2 separate regions of the Homo sapiens genome follow, and region 2 is linked to region 1. The links are contacts of gene promoters, found by promoter capture Hi-C in blood cells and fetal thymus (Javierre and others, 2016). All regions are on one chromosome and are shown on one strand. Each heading gives the region's core, a stretch centred on a gene start or on the middle of the fragment in contact. The rest is flanking DNA. Distances are from core to core; before and after follow the strand shown.

Evidence for each region. Contacts are between HindIII fragments. The CHiCAGO score rates a contact against its expected background, and 5 or more counts as called.
Region 2: a contact is called between a fragment that was not itself captured here and the fragment with the promoter of CUEDC1 in region 1, in 1 of 17 cell types (neutrophils). The highest score is 6.0, in neutrophils.

What each region holds. Positions count from the first base shown.
Region 1 is chr17:57,951,966-57,958,285 of GRCh38, reverse strand. CUEDC1 (CUE domain containing 1) reads left to right here and starts at 2,874. Exons shown (of 11, transcript NM_001271875.2): 1 at 2,874-3,061. RefSeq lists a silencer at 2,950-3,019 and an enhancer at 5,308-5,809. The HindIII fragment of the contact is 9,939 bases long and covers 944-6,320 here.
Region 2 is chr17:57,837,694-57,844,013 of GRCh38, reverse strand. It overlaps MRPS23 (mitochondrial ribosomal protein S23), which reads left to right. Exons shown (of 5, transcript NM_016070.4): 3 at 2,754-2,831; 4 at 2,962-3,088; 5 at 4,079-6,320. The coding sequence ends at 4,231. Among named protein-coding and RNA genes, the nearest start is that of MRPS23, 9.2 kb to the left of the region's middle. The HindIII fragment of the contact is 7,205 bases long and covers 1-6,320 here.

The DNA.
Region 1 (6,320 bases), core at 1,625-4,124:
GAGGGGTTGGTTAGAAAGTTAGAGGACTCAGCCTTGGAGAAACCCCTGGGGCAGGCAGAGCTGAAGAAATGAGGGAATGGATAGAAAGACGCAGAGGCTAGGAAGCCATGAGGGTGGGAATGGTTTCAAGGAGGCGTTAGCAACATCCAGGGCTCCAATGGAGTGAAGGAATGGGATAGGGAGGAGGCCCATGGGTTGAAACAATGAGGAGCCTAAGGTTGCCTCCCTTGGAAAGGCATCTTCCCCTAGAAAGATGCCGGTGCCTCCCTGTAAAAATCACCTTCCCCTAGGATGAAGGGGAAGAAAGTCAGATTGTAGGAAGTTGAGGATTGAATAGGGCTTGAAGAAGCAGAGAGTGGGTCTGGTTGCTTCTTAGGGGAGGCCTACTGATGAATGCAGAAGAGAGAAACAGGGCAATGACTTGAGGGCAGGGCAGGGTTGGGGCCAGGTTCCCTTAGAAGGGGGTATCCTGAAGTGTTTGTAGTTTTGAAGCAGAGGGGAGGAGAAAGAAGAACTAACAGAGTTTCCTGAAGCACATAGGAGGTTGGGCTGGAAAGCAAAAGGGACATCTCTGGAAGAGCAGAGACAATAGGGCCTGAACCAGGCAGAAGTGGAGGAGTGAGGCGGTGAGAGAAGGAGAAATGAACAGGATCTGATAACCAGTGGAGGGCCAGGGAAGCTGCACAGGAGACAGAGGCTTCCAGCCTCTGAGCCAGAGGTGGATTCAGGAGAGTAGGAGGAGGTGGCTTAGGTAGGGAAGCGGTCTCAGTCGCCTTTAGCCTCCTTGAGTTTTAGGTGTCTGGGAGACTCACAGGTGGCCCTCTGTAGGCGGCTGGTGTGAGGGGCTGGAGCCCTGGGGGCTCAGAGGCAGTGGTGGGAGTGGGTGGAGGTGTCTGGGGGTGGGGAAGTTGTGAGAGGCAGGGAAGGGGTCTGAGAAAAAGCTTCCAGAAGGACAGACCCAAAAGGAGGAGTATGTTAGCAAAGCCCAAGAAAAGTGTGCTTCAAGGAAGAGTGTCCATTAGAGCAACTGGTTTTATTAATGACTATAATAATAATGTATTTAAAAATTTTACTAGCCGGGCGTGGTGGCACCCACCTGTAACCCCAGCTACTCAGGAGGCGTAGGCAGGAGAATTGCTTGAACCTGGGAGGCGGAGGTTGCAGTGAGTTGAGATCGTGCCACTGCACTCCAGCCTGGGTGACAGAGCGAAACTCCGTCTCAAAAAAAAAAAAATTATGAGCAATCCATAGGCGAGTGCAAATGGAAATCTCCAGGTTTGCAGATGCATTTTTCTGCTCCTGAAATGCCAAGGTGACAGGAATGAACTGCAGAGGGATCTTGCAAGTAAGCAGGAAAGTGACAAATGAACTGCACTATGGGTAAGTGTAAGGTAATACACTTGATAACATAATCTAGACTATATTGGCCAGGCGGACAAATCCTGAGCTCTCAGTTACAACCTGGGAAAGGAGCCAGGAGTCAGTATAGAGGCATGGGTCTGTCCCTTCGGATTAAGAATCTTTAACCTGGGGCCTGAAGACCATCTTCTGGGATTTCAAGCACCCTGCCTCCCCCGGAAATTGAATGCACCAGGGAGTGAAGTGTGGGGAGAGAGGAGCAGGAGAGAGGAGATCCTCAGAGGGGTTTGGAAACCCAGTCCTGGAGTTCCGTTCAACATGCTAACCTAACGTTGGGCCTCCCCGAGGAGGGTGTGGTTCTGAGGTTTCTCCCCCTCCCAGTTTCCCACCTTGCTGAAGAAACTTGCCCTTGACATGCAAATGATGGAAACACATTGGTGTCTGGGGCACTTTGGTTTGTGGTTTTTACCATCAGCTGTCTCTGAGGCTGAGCGTGTCGATCTGTCTCAGCAAGGCTAGCAAATTGCAAGCGCTCAGAGGAGGGGAGAGGGGGGCTATTCCTGGGGTTCTGGGCCCAGATGGGCAAATGGGTCTGTAAGGCAGACTTTTCCAGGAGGAGGGTGCAGACCCTTTGCAAGTTGTTTGGGGACAGAGCTTAGTTTGCATCTGGCCTTCTTCACCCTCCTCAGATCCCCTAGGTAGCAGGGTGCTTGGTGGTCACCACCTGACCTAGGCTACCTACTCCCAAATTGGAGTCTGAAATGAAAGCACGTGGGAAAAGTATAGCAAAGGTCAGTTTCCCATTTATTAAACAAGTTCTTCCGTGGAAAATCTTCCCAGGGCTCAGCAGCCCTTGAAGTGATCAGGGATGCTGGGGAGGTTGGGGGAGGAGAAAATGGGAGATGGCAGGTGGTATCTGTCGGTGTGGACGAGTGATAGCTTTGATTTGCTCCCCCTTCCCACCATCTCCTGTGTCCTCAGCATTTGATTTGGTTTCCTTTCCGGGGCCCTAATTCCAGGGAGGTGCCCCTCCTCCACACCTGTGTCCCAAGCCCCAGCTGTGCGTCCTCACCCTGGGTTCCTGGCACTGACCTGGAACCTGTCGGGCAGCCCTGCTCTTAGCTCCCCGCGGAGTCTCGGAGGTCTCAGGTCTCCTCCGCCCACCCTCTCCGCAGCTGGGAGGGGCAGGATGCCCCGCACCCCGCTCTGCGCGGGAGGTCGAGGCACCCCGCTCACGCCCTCCTGCCCGCAAGCTAGGGAGTCACTGCGGCCGGGGAGGGAGGTACACGGAGGGCATTTTTCCAGCCTTCACTGGGTGCTCCCCTCTCCACCCCCGGCAACCATGTAGGTTTCCGGACCCCCAGGTCCGCTTCCCTCCTCTCTGGAAAGGGGTCGGCCATAGGGAAAGGGCCCGGGGGCGCCGCAGCCGGGCCCCCGCCCCGCCCCGCCCGCAGCCCCGCTCCTCCCCGCGCGGCCCCACTTGTGGCCCTGCCGGCAGCCGCGCAGGGACAGCTGCATTTCTCGCCGCCCGCCGCTAGGAAGCCGGCCTCGCCTCACTTTCTCCGCCTCCCCGCGCCCCAGCCGCGCCGCCGCCGCCGAGCCTGGCCCCGCCGCCACCGCTGCGGATTGCAGCCCCTCCCCCGCCCGGCCCGCGGCCCGGCCCCTGCGGCCCGCGCGGAGCGGACGCGCGTGGCGCTGCCCGGTAAGACCCCCGCGCTCCCGCGGCTCCCGCCCGGCCCCGGGCGCGGTCCTCGCCGGCGCCCCGCGCGCAATCCCGGCCGCGGCCCCGGCCCAGCGGCCCCACCTTCTCGGGACCCGTTGCCCAGGCGCCGCCGGGAGGGCCGGGCCGTCGCGAGTTTGATTCCCGGGGCTGTCGGCGCGGCTCCCCGGGAGCTCCGCGTGCGGCAGGTCCCCGCCCGCCCTTCCTTCCCGAGCCCCCACCTCATCCCGGGCCCCGGGCGCGGGGGGCGTGCGGGCATCTGGGGGGCCGGGAGCGGGGCGCGCGATTAGACCGGGGGGCGCGGGCCAGCGCCGCAGGGAAGGGAGACGAGGCCTCCCGGAGCCGGCTTCGCCCGAGTCCCCTCTCCCGCCGCTCCCCCTTTTGTGTGGGCGCCCCTCCCCGCAGTGCCCGGGCCTGGGGGCGCAGGCTGGGCGGCGACGGCAGGCGGGGGCGCCTGCTGGGAGCCGAGCGCCTTTCAGGGGGAGGGGAGCTTCGCTTCCTGCCCCCCGCCGATGTCACAGGTCGGCTCAGCCTTTTTTGGTCCCTCCCGGTCCCCTGGGAGCTGTATCTCCCGTCAGCTCGGCCAGGGAAAGTTGGGAATGCGCTGTCCCCGCCCCTGCTCGCCCGCCCCGCCGGCTCCTGTGCCCCAGGCTCTGAGCTCCAAGGGGGGCTGGTGTCAGCGTTTATTCATTCCTCCCTCTTCCTTTTCTCGGTCGCGTGGTCGCCTTACACCCAGCACTGCCCTGCCCATTTCTTTTCCCCTTAAAAAAAGTTTTAGCTCTAAGAAACGTACACTGAAATTAAATTCCTGAGACGGAATGTGTTTTAAGGGGAGGGAGGGTTTAGATTTTCCTTTTTTTGGTGGAGTAGTGGAGTAGAAGATGAGGGGACTCCCTGGGAGTTTAGAAACAAGATGCCCTGGAGGCGATAGAGGATACAAGAAGACCATCCACCGTGCTCCCCACCTGATCCGCAGTCAGCGTCTTGTAGCGAGAGGAATGAGCCTTCCCTGGGTGATCCCGCAGCACCTGAGCCACCTGGCCCAGGAGAAAGGACTCAGGGAGATGTACTGGGCCTTTCACCCCTTTTCTTTATAGCCAGCTGTGCCTGAAGGAGGTGAGGGACCCCAGGAATTCTCTCACGGAGGAAGTCATCTCACCATGTGGTTGGGCCCCTGCTGGATCAAGTGTGAAGCTGGGTCCTCTCTGTTGTTGGGGGTCAGTGCCACTGGTACCTCAGTTTGAATATGGTGCCATCTCTGGGATGGAGAGGTGCTGCTGGGAGAAACCTGGCTCGGGTCTCCAGGAAGCTGGAGCGTGTGCAGCAGGGCTGGGTGTGAAACCCGCTGTCCACTTTCTGCAGCTGGAAGGGCCAGGACAAGGGAAACAGGATACTGCTACCGACCTGGGCACATCCTTGAATAGAAGAGAGACCCTGGACAGCGAGGATGGCCCAGGGATGTTGATATGACTAGGGCTGTATCCCCAGCTCCTGGGCCAGGCCAACTAGGGCCAGAGGTTGGAGTCATGGGCCCCTTTGAGAATCTGGTGAAAGCTCTAACTCCTCTCCTTCCAAAATGCATGTGTGTAGGGAGACACCTGTATTCAACACCAGACGGTTAATATACCCCCTTGGAACCAGGACCTCCATTGAGACCTCTGCCCTAGAGTTACTGGTCTGACCTGGGCCATCAGAACAGTTGTCACCTTTTTGGCTGGTCAGTGAATAATCCCAGGGTTCAAAGAGCAGACTGCTTCTAAGGTCTTTTCTCATGACCTCCCTATGCAACTTTGGGCTTGTGGCCATGGAGACCTGGAGTGTCTGGACAGATCCCAGCTCCCTACAGCTAGCTAGAGGATGGGGGCAGATGAGGTGGCCCTTTTCCAGGGGCTCATTTTGCTGTCTGTGTGGTGGGAAGGCCCTGGGCACTGGACTAGGCCCACTGGTCTATTGAATTAGAGGTAAATAAAGGGATTTGGGTGGAGGTGGATATTCTGGTGTTTCAGCTGGGTGTGAGATCCAGGCCTTTAAGAGCTCCAGCTTGTTCTTGGGGAAATGGGGTTGAGGTGCTTTAGTAGAGAGTGTTAAGTGTGAAAGACGACTCTTAAGGAGGTCTTGGGGCAGAATTGTCCAAGGCTATGATCTGGGTGTTGTCGGTTCCTTAGATCCCTTTGGACTCTTGAAGGCAAGTGGGGGCCAGAGGGCTGCTGTCACTATCCCCAGTGCAGCCCCAGGCCAGAGGAGGCCTGGCCTGCCTTTCCTTTCTTGGCTCACTGGGTCCTGGGCTGCTGCATAGGTGTTTGTGGCATCTACACTTGCTAGGGATCTGGAAGAGCTTTAGGACGATCTGCCATTTGTGACTTCTCTACCTTGGGACTGAGAAGACTTCCTTAGGCTCAAGTCCCCCACAGAGAGCTGTAGGGGATTTTTCTTTGTTTAACTAGAGAGCACAGTGTTTGGCATATGGCAGCACTCACACTGGTATTCTTCCTTTAGAGCTTCCTACATTTGCTCTGGTAATAAGCAGCAGAGGCAGGAGTATTCTAGAGCCTTGGGGCACAGGAAGCTGGGTGTCTGACAGGGGTCACCTCTGACTATCCAAGGTGAGCTGGAGGAGGTGGTGCTTCTGTGTTGCTGGCTCTTGCACTTACAGGAAGCAAGAGCTATAAAGGGCATTGGAGGCCGGATGCGGTGGCTCATGCCTGTAATCCCACCACTCTGGGAGGCCGAGGGGGGTGGATCACCTGAGGTCAGGAGTTTAAGACTAGTCTGGCCAACATGGTGAAACCCCGTCTCTACTAAAAATACAAAAATTTGCTGGGTGTGGTGGCGTGTGCCTGTAATCCCAGCTACTCAGGAGACTGAGGCAGGAGAATTGCTTGAACCTGGGAGGTGGAGGTTGCAGTGAGCCGAAGTTGTGCCATTGCACTCCAACCTGGATGACAAGAGCAAAACTTTGTCTCCAAAAAAAAAACATAAATAAATAAATAAAATAAAATAAAATAAAATAAAATGAAGGGCATTGGAGACCCTAAAGCGCTGTGGTCCAGTGGTCCTTGACTTGGGAATTGAAAGTGTCTTGGTGGCATGCAAAGTCCTTGTTGCAGTGACTGAGGATTCACCTTCCCCAGTGGCCATGACTTCTCAGTCATGCTGTGGCCCTGGCTACCATGGGTTGGTGAGTTCAGGATGCTAGCTGTGTTGGCTCACTCAGTGTTTCTCTGATCCCCTTGGCTTCCAG
Region 2 (6,320 bases), core at 2,065-4,564, 110 kb after region 1:
ATAATCTGAGTGATAAAGGTCTTTTTAAGCATGATATAAAACTCAGAAGCCATAAAAAGAAAATATTAAAATTTTCTGTATAAAAAAGTACTGTAAGCAAAATCAAAAGACAGCCAACAAACTGGGAAAGATCTTTGCAATGTTATGACAAAGGACTAATTTTCTATGTATATGGCTACAAAGTTTGCTTAGAAATCATTAAGAAAGAGACCACTGTGTAACGAATTACCATAGACCAGGTGGCTTATAAACAAATGAAATTTCTTTCTCATAGTTCTGGAGGCTAGGAAGTCTGAGATCAGGGTGCCAGCAGGGTCAGGTTCTGGGGAGGACTGTCTTCCTGATTCCTCACATTGAGGGGAGCAGAGAGTGGTAGCAAGCTCTCTTCTATCTCTTATAGGGGCACTAATCCCATCATGAGGGCTGATTACCATGACCTGATTACCTCCCAAAGCCTCCATCTCTAAATACCATCACAATGGGGATTAGGATTTCAACATAGTAATTTTGGTGGGACACGTTTAGTCCATAGCAACCACCAAATAGAAAAGCGGACAAAGAACTTGGACAGTTCACAGAAAAGGAAATTCAGTTTGCTTTTAAACTTGAAAAGATGTCCAGTCTCTTTAAAAAGAAAAGCAAATTAAAACTATAAAGAGTTCTGGTTTCTTACCTATTAGGTTGGCTAAGATCAAAAAGTTGGAGAACATGTGTGTGTGTGTTTGTGTATTTTTTTTTTTTTTTTGAGGCAGGATCTAACCCAGACTGGGATGCAGTGGTGCCTATCATGGCTTACTGCAGCCTTGACCTCCTGGACTCAAGTGATCCTCCCACCTCAGCCTCCTGAGTAGCTGGGACTACAGGTGTATGCCACCATTCCTGGCTAATTTTTAATTTTTTTTGTAGAGATGGTGTCCCACTATATTGCCCAGGCTGGTCTTGAACTCCTGGCCTCAAGTGATCCTCCTGCCTTGGCCTTCCAAAGTGCTGGGATTACAGGCATCAGCCAGCACGCCTGGTCTAAATATATATATATATTTTTGCTGGGATTACAGGTGTGAGCCACTGCACCTGCCTCGTGTGTGTGTGTGTGTGTGTGTGTGTGTGTGTGTGTGTGTGTGTATATATATATATTTTTTTTTTTTTTTTAGAGACAGGGTCTCAGGTCTCACCATGTTGCCCAAGCTGGTGGTGAGCTCCTGGCCTCAAAAGATCCTCATGCCTCAGCTTCCCAAGCAGGTGGGATTATATGCGTGAGCCTCTATGCTCAGCTGGAGAATGTCATTTGGTCAGGGTGTGGGGAGATAGGTGCTCGTATATTACCTATGTGAATGTAAATTGGTACAGCCACTTTGGAAAGCATTTTGGCAATTTGGAAGGCTTAATTACAAATGCACATACCTTGATCCAGTAGTACCACATTTGTGAATTTATGCCACAGACTTATTTACGTAGTGCACTAAAATTATAAATAGAGATAATGATTGCAGCATGGTTTAGAGTAGTAAAGGACTGGAAACAATCTCCATGGCACTGATAAGGCAAGATGTAGGGAGGAGAAATGGGGAGTGACTGCTCAGATACAGTGCCTCCTTTTGGGGGTGATGAAAATGTTTTGGAACTTGATAGAGGTGCTAGTTGCACAGCTTTGTGAGTTTTCTACATGTCACTTAATTGCACACTGAAAAATGTTAAATGTGGGCTGGGGACAATGGCTCATGCCTGTAAGCCCAGCATTTTTGGAAGCCAAGGTGGGAGGATCTCTTGAGGCTAGCAGTTCAAGACCAGCCTGGGCAACATAGTGAGACTGCATCTCTACAAAAATTTAAAACTTAGCCAGGCATGGTGGTGCTGCGAACCTGTAGTTCCAGCTACTCAGGATGCTGAGGCAAGAGGATTGCTTGAGCCCAGGAGTTTGAGGCTGCAGTGAGCTATGATCACAGCACTGCTACCTGCGTTGGTGACACAGTGAGACCCTGTCTCTTTGGAAAAAAAAAAAGTTAATTTTATGATGTGTGACTTTTACCTCAGTTTTTATTATTTATTTTTATTTTGTTATTATTTTTTGAGACGGAGTCTCATTCTGTTGCCCAGGTTGGAGTGCAATGGTGCGCTCTCCACTTACTGCAACCTCTGCCTCCTGGGTTCAAGTGATTCTCCCACCTAACCCTCCCAAGTAGCTGTGACTACAGGCATATGCCACCATGCCTGCTAATTTCTTTGTATTTTTAGTAGAGATGGGGTTTCACCATGCTGAACTCCCAGTTGCAAGTAATCTGCCTGCCTCAGCCTCCCAAAGTGCTGGGATTATAGGCATGAGCCACTGCGCCTAGCCATACCTCAGTTTTTAAAAAGGCAAGATGTAGAGCAAGGTTTACTATTCTTGGGGTTAAAAATGTGGCTGGGGACAGGGAATGATAGTGCATATATGCTAGTATATTAGTGGAATATTTCTGGATGGATATACAAGAAATTTGTTAGTGTTGCTTCCTGGGAAGGGAACTGGGGGGCTGGGGTGCAGAAGTGGGAGGGAGTGTTACTTTTCACTGGCCACCCTTTTGTGCTATTTGATGTATTTACCATGTGCATGTGTGCATTACTTATCTAAAAAAACAAAACTGTTCAGCTTAGGCTATGTGGGTTATACCGTACTTAACTCCTCAGTGCCTAGCACTTATTCTTTATTTCTTTTATTCCATTCTCATCCACAGTCTATAATCGGAGATTTATATTATGTTGTTTGCATTTTCTAGGAAGTTTTATTCAGTGTATGGGTCTGGTCAAAGAGCTTTTGATCTATTCAATCCAAACTTCAAGTCTACCTGTCAACGGTAAGCCATTTTATAAGTCCTAGGCTATTCATATTATTTTTTAAGGATTTTGTTATCCATTTGATATTGTGTAACAGCGTCTTAACAATGCTTACAAACATACCTAAAATGTGACTGCTTGGAATTACAGGTTTGTGGAGAAGTACACTGAGCTACAGAAACTTGGAGAAACAGATGAAGAGAAGTTATTTGTGGAAACAGGGAAGGCTTTATTGGCAGAAGGTGTCATTTTAAGACGAGTAGGCGAAGCAAGGACTGTGAGTATTTCATTGTTAAAATTGTTACTGGGTTTATAGTTGTCCCTCAGTATGCACAGGGGATTGGTGCTAGGGCCCCTGCAGATACCAATATTCACAGATGCTGAAATACCTTTTATAAAGTGCTGTGGTTTTTGCATATAACCTACACATATCCTCCCATATACTTTAATCATCTCTAAATCATTTATAATACATAACACATTGTAAATGCTATGTAAGTAGTTATACTCTATTTTTAAAAATTTATATTTTTTATTTTATTTATTTATTGTTAAAATATTTTTGATCCGTGGTTTGTTGAATCTGCATATGTGGAACCTGTAGATGCAGAGGGTTGACCAGAGTTGCCAATCTGATGGAAGTTAAAGAGAGACTTGGTTTTCTTTCCCTAACCTTGGCTTATGTTCTTAAACTCCAGGTCAAATACTGTTACACTGAATATACTAGAATTTTGTGGTAATGACTGCTACTTGAAACAAGTGAGTCGTCATTAGGGCTTTTGAAATTTGGTTCTATAGACTTTTTTTTTTTTTTTTGAGACGGAGTCTCGCTCTGTCACCCAGGCTGGAGTGCAGTGGCGCAGTCTTGGCTCACTGCAAGCTCTGCCTCCTAGGTTCATGCCATTCTCCTGCCTCAGCCTCCCGAGTAGCTGGGACCACAGGCGCCTGCCACCATGCTCAGCTAATTTTTTGTAGCTTTAGAAGAGACGGGGTTTCACCGTGTTAGCCAGGATGGTCTTGATCTCCTGACCTCGTGATCCGCCCGCCTCAGCCTCCCAAAGTGCTGGGATTACAGGCGTGAGCCACCACGCCCGGCCCTATAGACTTTTTAAAATCATGTTTACTATTTGTTATAGTAGAATTGGATCTAAGATATTAGTGCTAAATTTTTCACTCAGTGACAGAATGTGCCTAGTTATATATCTTTAGCGAATTAATTGAGTGAAAATGATAACATCTCTGTGATACTTAAATCTGGTCTTTTAAGCAACACGGAGGTAGTCACGTTTCCCGGAAATCCGAACACTTGAGTGTCAGACCACAGACTGCGTTGGAAGAAAACGAGACTCAGAAAGAAGTTCCACAGGACCAGCATTTGGAGGCACCTGCAGACCAGTCGAAAGGTCTCTTGCCTCCCTGAAGGACCTGTATACTGTGTATGCTGGCATTCACACTCTACTCACTGGCTGAATGTTGAGCTATTTTTAAACAGTTGAACTGTGTAAATGTTTCTTGATCTCTAAGGTATTATGTTTGCCTTCTCTTAGTTATTTCTGGGTTGTCACAAAGCTCAGTATCATGGTTTGACAGAAGCAGTTATGTGAACTTTTATGTTAGGACATTACTAAATAAAGAATTCCCTAGCTGCTTATAAAGTAAATTTACTTTGAATTGTAAATAACATGAAGAAACCTTTATAAAGATTGTTCAAATGGGACTCAATCTGACTAGGCTTGCTTTGATGTTTGTTAGTATGTGGGCTGGCTACATCTGATTCCCGGGTACATATTTCTTCTGATCCATCAGACTTATACGTGTACACATGTTGTGGAACCTTGGCTAGCTGGTTTTGTCTGCAGAGAATCTTTGTACTTCTTGCTATAGAACGATTATCTCTCCACTTGAGAGGCCAAGCTGACTTGCGCTTTGTGGTAAGAGTGAGGACCTGTCATTGCTGATACACAAAGACCAAAACTGTAACTTTAATGTCATGGATTGAGTGTGCTGGAGACAGTTAACATAGGCCTGCACAGACTAGGCTGTTCAGTAAATACTTGTTGAATGAATGAGTGAACGAATGGTTATATCCAGCTAAAGACTGGATTCATATGGTGTAGATAACAGGATTGCCAAGAAAGGAGGCAGCTAATTTAGGTGATGCTCTCCACCAGCATCCACCTGCCTCCCTGGGGCCAAAGTGTGCCTACAAGTCCTTATCAACTTCCCTGCCTTCCTCGTTTCCCCAGGTTTTACTAAATACATGAAATATCCCTCTGAGATTGCAGCCTTTGTATATGTGGTCAAGCCAGTGGTTTTTAGCTGTTAGTAGTAAGCTGCTTCAGAAATTCCCTATTTTAAAACTCATGTAGATTTTCTACCCAGTGATTCTTTGTGTATGCTCTCATCTCTCCTGGTACACTGTGAGGCAGGTCCACATCTCACAGTCTGTATATAGTACACATCCATGCACGTGGGTGCTTGGTTCATGCAGGTGAATGAATACATTAGGCAAAAGCAGCTCTCAGCCATGCTGCTTCCCCCTCGACCTTTATCACTGTTTCACAACTGCTTGCATTTGGAGAATGCTTTACTTTTCCGTAGGGAAGTAAATTTCATCCATTCAGAGACATTACACAACCATTGAGACCAAACATCGGGCCAGACCTTGGGAAGAGGACTTAAAAAGCAGGTGAAAGACACAGTCTATTCTCAGAGGAACAATTGAGGGGTCACTCATCTCTTTAAACCTTAGGTTTCTGGTTTTTTAAGGGCAGGTTTTTTTTGCCACAATGATGAATATTTAAAAAATGTTTTTTTCCTTCATGTCTGGATTGATGTCCCATTTTTGCTATTTTTGTTTGTTTTCCTCCTCTGTAGATTTTTAATTTTTTTTTTTTTTTTTTTTTTTTTTTTGCGATGGAGTATCACTTTGTTTCCCAGGCTGGAGTACAGTGGAGCCATCTTGGCCCACTGCAACCTCCGCCTCCCAGGTTCAAGCAGTTCTTCTGCCTCAGCCTCCCAAGTAGCTGGGATTACAGGTGTATGCTATGACGCCCGGCTAATTTTTGTATTTTTAGTAGAAACGGGCTTTTAACCATGTTGCCCAGGCTGATCTCAAACTGCTGGCCTCAAGTGATCCACCCATCTCAACCTCCCAAAATGCTGGGATTACGGGTGTTAGCCACCATGCCTGGCCTTAATTTTTTTTTTTTTTAATTTTGTTTTAGGAGATGGGGGTCTCACTGTGTTACCCAGGCTGGGTGCAGTGGTGCATACCCTGCCGCAGTCTTAACTCCTGGGCTGAAGCCATCCTGGCTCACTTCCCGAATAGCTAGGACTATAGGCATGTGCCACCACGCCTGGCTCTTTAACATTTTTTTTGTTTGTTTTTTTTTGTAGAGATGGAGTCTTGCTATGTTGCCCAGGCTGGCCTGGTCTCAAACTCCTGGCCTCAAGCGATCCTCCTGCCTCAGCCGCCCAAAGTGCTGGGATTACAGGCCTGAGCGACC